Linked DNA regions of Homo sapiens: region 1 is linked to region 2. Evidence: promoter capture Hi-C in human tissues and cell types (Jung and others, 2019). All regions are on one chromosome and are shown on one strand. The core of a region is centred on a gene start or on the middle of the fragment in contact, and the rest is flanking DNA. Distances in the headings are between cores, read along the strand shown. Region 1 overlaps KIAA2012. Region 2 holds the start of MPP4 (MAGUK p55 scaffold protein 4).

Evidence for each region. The method cuts DNA at HindIII sites, captures the fragments that hold promoters and counts their contacts. A contact is called where the count stands out against the background at its distance.
Region 1: a contact is called between a fragment that was not itself captured here and the fragment with the promoter of MPP4 in region 2, in 1 of the 25 tissues and cell types used here (mesendoderm cells).

Annotation. Positions count from the first base shown.
Region 1 is chr2:202,191,894-202,194,713 of GRCh38, forward strand. It overlaps KIAA2012, which reads left to right. Exons shown (of 24, transcript NM_001277372.4): 20 at 1,408-1,610; 21 at 2,297-2,469. Among named protein-coding and RNA genes, the nearest start is that of SUMO1, 45 kb to the right of the region's middle. The HindIII fragment of the contact is 7,310 bases long and covers 1-2,820 here.
Region 2 is chr2:201,697,231-201,699,930 of GRCh38, forward strand. MPP4 (MAGUK p55 scaffold protein 4) reads right to left here and starts at 1,414. Exons shown (of 22, transcript NM_033066.3): 1 at 1,357-1,414. RefSeq lists enhancers at 2,044-2,545, 2,546-2,700. The HindIII fragment of the contact is 2,902 bases long and covers 1,072-2,700 here.

The DNA.
Region 1 (2,820 bases), core at 44-2,543, 490 kb after region 2:
CAGGTTGCCAGAAATTGCACAACCATTGAGTGGTAGAGCCAAGACTTAAGCTTAGGTCCTTTGACTCCAACTTCAGGACTCTTGTCACCATTTTAAATTATTATCTATTTACTTATTTTATGGCTCATGGTCTTCCAAAAAGGATTCCAGGAAGATTTTCCTTTATAGTTCTCAGTCCCTCCCAGCTTCCTGGATCACACAATTCGGCTCTGCACAACAGATGAAAATTTTAACCTATGGGCCGAACTTTTCTGAACCTGCGGGATCATCAGCATTTCTTAGATTTATTGTCAATCCATAATACTATGCTGCCTCTGCAAAGACTAAAAAGCAAGGAGCTTTTTCTCTGAGTTGGATACACAGAGTTCCTAGAAGGCTTGCCTCTCAAGGTTCCCTTCATAGGCATATTTCTGAGGAAGAGGCACTAGGGAGAAAAAGAAAGCTATGACAACCTTCCTATAAACTGAAAGAACAACCTTCCATTGGAAAGGTGAGTTTCTGTGGGATTAAATGTGAATCTGACCCATCTATACCTAAGATTGCCCCTGGTAAAATAGCTTCTTTTTTTTTTTTTTTTTTTTTAGAGGGAGCTTCACTCTTTTTGCCCAGGCTGGAGTGCAATGGCGCAATCTCGGCTCACCGCAACCTCTGCCTCCCGGGTTCAAGCAATTCTCCTGCCTCAGCCTCCCAAGTAGCTGGCATTACAGCCACGTGCCACCATACCTGGCTAATTTTGTATTTTTAGTAGAGATAGGGTGTCTCCATGTTGGCCATGCTGGCCTGGAACTCCTGACCTCAGGTGATCTACCCACCTCAGCCTCCAAAAGTGCTAGGATTACAGGCATGAGCCATGCCCGGCCCCTTGTTTTTATATTTTTGAGGCAGAGTCTTGCTTTGCCACCCAGGAGTGCAGTGGCATGATCATAGGTGACTTGTTACCTTGAACCCCTGGGCCCAAGCAATCCTCCCACTTCAGCCTCCCAAAATGCTGGGATTACAGGCATGAACTGCTGCACCCAGCCACAAGTAATTTTTGAAAGCTCCTTGGGTGATTCTAAAGTGCAGCCATGGTTGAGAACTCTAGAACCTACCATGTACTGGACATTATGTTGGCACTTTCATTATTTCAGCTAATCCTGGCAACAGTACCATGAGGAAGACAATATCGGGAAGTTTAAGTTGTGATCCCTAAATCCCAAAGCAAGTAAGAGAGAGAGTTGAATCCAGGTTAATCAGACCCAAAAGTCCAAGCTGGTGGTGGCTGAGTCTATGCAGCTGTGGGCAAAGTGTGGAGTCTGTTTTATGATTCCATCTTTGATTAGAGACAACACTGTCTGGGGTGGAGAAGGGCTCACTGCTGAGACAGACCCATCTGTTTATTGCACTGAGAACACTCTGGTTTCTTAGGCCCTCCTCACTAAGAGGGAGCAGGAGAAGGCTTCCTGGGACAGGCTTCGAGCAGAAAGAGCCGAGATGAGGTGGCTGGAGGTGGAGAAGAAGAGAAGGGAGCAGGAAGAGCAAAGGCAGCTCCAGCAGGAGCAGCTGGAGAGAGCAAAAAAGATGGAGGAGGAGCTGGAGCTGGAGCAGCAGAGACGTACAGAAGAGATCCGGTAGGTTGGGCAAGCCAAAGAGACTACAGCCATGTTAGGAAGCAGAAGAAAAAGACAGTGGTTGACCTCCCCTAGGGGCAATGTTTGGTTCTGAGGCTCATGCCCTGAAGTTAAAATAGCATGTGTCATTTTTCTCTATCCTCAGTTTTCCTAGGAACAACACTCACCAGAGATAAACTGTAGCGTCTCAACCATGTGCATTGGTACACTCTGCTGAATGTCACTCTCTTTCAAGTTTAGAACCCCATGTGAGGGTTACTCACATTGATGACCCTGAGATCTTCTTGGGAAGGCTCTGAGATTCAGTCCAGAAAACACTTGTCAAGCCCCTGCACTTTGTGGTCTGCACTGTGCTAGGCCCTTTCACAGGCCTCAACTGCAATTTAATCTTCACAACCCTGTGAGGCAAGAGTTTTGAAATCCATAAGCATGAAAAATGAACTTAAGACCCCTGCTGCAGAGCACAGAGCTGTGTACTGAAACTTCTAGGCTTCTGGTTTCAAGCCCGCTGGGCTCTTTGCTCTTCAATCCTGGCTTCCCTTGGAAAACTGAGTCTCCTGGGAATAGGTTGCTCCCTGTGGCCTGTGGGCTGCAGAGCCTCCCCCATGGGCACTGTCTGTTGGCTCATCTCACAAGGATGCCTCAGTGTTTTCTGCCATTTCCCTGACCATCTTGGGTTTTCTCAGCTTGAGGAAACAGAGACTCCAAGAAGAACAGCAGCGGCAGGAGGAGGAGGAGAGAAAGCAGCAGCTCCGGTTGAAAGCAGCCCAGGAGAGAGCCCGGCAACAGCAAGAGGAGTTTCGGAGGAAACTGCGAGAACTACAGAGAAAAAAGCAGCAGGAGGAAGCCGAGAGGGCCGGTGAGGGGGTTCTTGAGCTCTTTGCATCTCTCTTCTACTTGGGGCAGAAACACTTTTATCCAGCTGTGAGTGTTCATTTATTCCTATCCTAGGCCTTAGTGTGTTAAGCACTCTAAATAATATAAACTATTTTTCAAAGTGATTATGTATGACTATAATTTGTTAATATAGATTTAAATAAGAAAGTAATGACTTGCTTGTGGAAATGACTCCAGAGTCCCTTTGCCCTTTCGGCATTGCTCAAGAGCTACCTAAATTGGAGACACAGCCCTACTCTTTGCTTCCTTCCCGAGCAGATGGAAACAGCCACAAACATCTGGATAGCTTCAGGGCAGACTTTCAGGTGCTGAT
Region 2 (2,700 bases), core at 164-2,663:
AAATACATTTCTGTTGTTTAAGCCACTGTCTATGGTACTTTGTTATGACAGCCAAAGCTAAGACAAAACTCATAGAAAAAAACTTCCAGAAAATGATTTTCCCTCCCTCCAGGTAGCTAAGAAAACAGTTGCAACTTCTTGCCCTCATAGCACTTCTCATTTTCCCAGTTCTTGTATCCACTGGCTTGCTCAGTGTCTGTCTCCCGCAGGTGTCATGTCTGCAGAGGGCCTGGGGAGCAGAGATGTTGCTTATCTTGTTCATGCTGCAGCTTCACCTGCAACAGTGCTTGGGCCATAGCAAGCACTTGGTATGTTCAGTTGTTGTTGGGAAGGGGTAGAACAAGGAGAGGCCAAGATCCAGAAGTAAAAGGCTGATACCTCCCTCAAGGCAGTAGCCAGCAGCTGGGACTTCAATCCTAATGGGGGAGGCAGCTGAACTCCAGAGGCCTGTGCCCTCCCTTCCTTTCCTCCCTGGCCTGGTATCCTGACTTAAACCTCTTTCCCTATCAAACTTTAAAACTGGGGGCAGAAGCGGATCTTAGAGATAATCAAATGCAAAACCTTTGTTTTACAGATAAGGAATCTGACATTCAAGGAGGTATTCAGTAGAGTTAACATGTAGTAAAATCGAGTTTTCCTCTTTTGTTTCCTTAGTCCTGAAAGATGCTGATGCCTGGCATGATGCCTGGCAAAAGACTTACCTTCCTTTCCATGACTTCTGTACCAAATTTGTCAGTTGAAGCTTATCTATTTCTGCTATCTTGAGAGTGAGAATTCTTGATTGAGACTGCAAATAAGTAAGCACCCACCACATGCAATTCCGGACTGAGTACACAGAAAGGATAGCCAGTTCTTGACTCAGAAGATGCATTAGTGTGACTGATGCCTAAGGAATTTGTCCTAAATCTTGTTTTAAAAGTATTTCCATTAGCTTTTTAAAACGTACTATTAAATGCCACAACCCCCTACCCTTACTATGCTTGTTTTTCAAAATAGTGCTTTTTACTAGACAAACCCTAAAAAAGCACTTGGAAACTTAATGATGAGAAATGGCCCTTACAAAAATAGCTGGCTTCCTCTGGGTCCAAATGCTGTTGATTAGGACCAGGGCAAATGCCCATTGTACTCAATCTTCCTGACAACTCATTATTCCATACTGAAGAAATGGCTTCTCGAAGCAAAACCTGCTCTTTCAAGATCATAAAATTCCCCATATCATTTGAGTTAAAATGAAACTAAGCCATTTGAGTTAGATTACCCAGATTTATATCTTTAGCTATTAAAAACTGACAGGCAAGCTAGGCAGTTATGGATACATCTTCTGGTAACTGAGGATTATTTGCCAAGGTCTCTTACCTGCAAGACTGTAAACATGCATGTTGCTCCTATCCAGACAAAAGCTTTAGTAGGATACTAGTGGCCTGTTAGCTGCCAAAGTCACCTCACTGCTCCCGATAAAATCTCTGCACATCCTCTTTGATGTAATCCACAGATGCCTAACCCAGCCTAACAACTAAATTACTCACAAGCCTTTCCTGCCACAAATCTTCTTAAGTATTCCTTGAAGTCTAATTTGTATCATTTTCAAACCTACATTCTAGTATTTTCTCTCAAATTGCCAACACATAGTTAACGGCAGAAAAACATAGTATTTTTGTTGATTAGTTCAAGATGACAGACATTCCACAACAGAAGATAGCATTTTTAATGAAAGAAAAAAATGTGGCAGGACCGGAAATAAGCCAATAACCTACTAACCTTATTAAATCTCTCATGTTATGGTGAGAAAACAACTGAAGACTGTTCAGCTAATAATAGAAACCCATCAAAAACAGTACCTTCTGGTCAATCCCCTCCCAAGCCACTGTTCTGAACCTAACAAATAGTGCTTTCTGTCTCAGATAGGAGCTACTTCTTTATCTGAAAACTTAATACTGCAGGGAGTGCTCAGTGGGGAGAGCATTTGGAAGGGGATATTGCAGAAAGGAGAGGAAGGTATTGCTGACAGCAAGGCAAAAGGTAGAGACCAAATGGCAATTATCAGAGGGTCCTCAGCCCTTCTACCCATATTAATCACATGGCTTTCCTTATCTCTCCATCATAGATGAAAACACAAGTTGGGAATGTGATACATTTGTGTTTTGAGTACAGCATATTTTGTGAAAAGCACTTGATTTCAATAAGATTTTCATTTTTAACTCACTTTTAAGAACTTTCAATACATAACCAGCTATGAAATGACATCTCTGGCAGCTGTAGTAGCAAAAAGCACTGGACTTCTAGGGAAGTAGGGAGTAGGGAAGTTCTAGGCTGGAGTCCCAGCTCTGGCAGTGAGCAAATCTTGGTCACTGCTTGTCTGAAAAATGGGGGGAAATGGGGATAACACCTGCATCCTTGGGCTGCTGTAAGCATTCATTACGCATGTGAATGACCATTGTAAACTGCTGCAGGAGTGCCAAGGACTTCTATTTACAAACATTGGCCTGGAGATTTAGGGTTTTTCTTCCAATACACTTCAAAATTTATAACTTTAATATGCTATCTGAAAAGCATATAGTAGGAAGAATCCAAAGTAACTGAACAGTTTCATTCAAGACTCCAGTAAAAGGACGAATTGTAACATGGCTTTTCTTAGAACAGAGACAGCCTATCATCATTGGAAATCTTCTCAATGGGTCAATTTGTCTCAAAGTTTTTGTT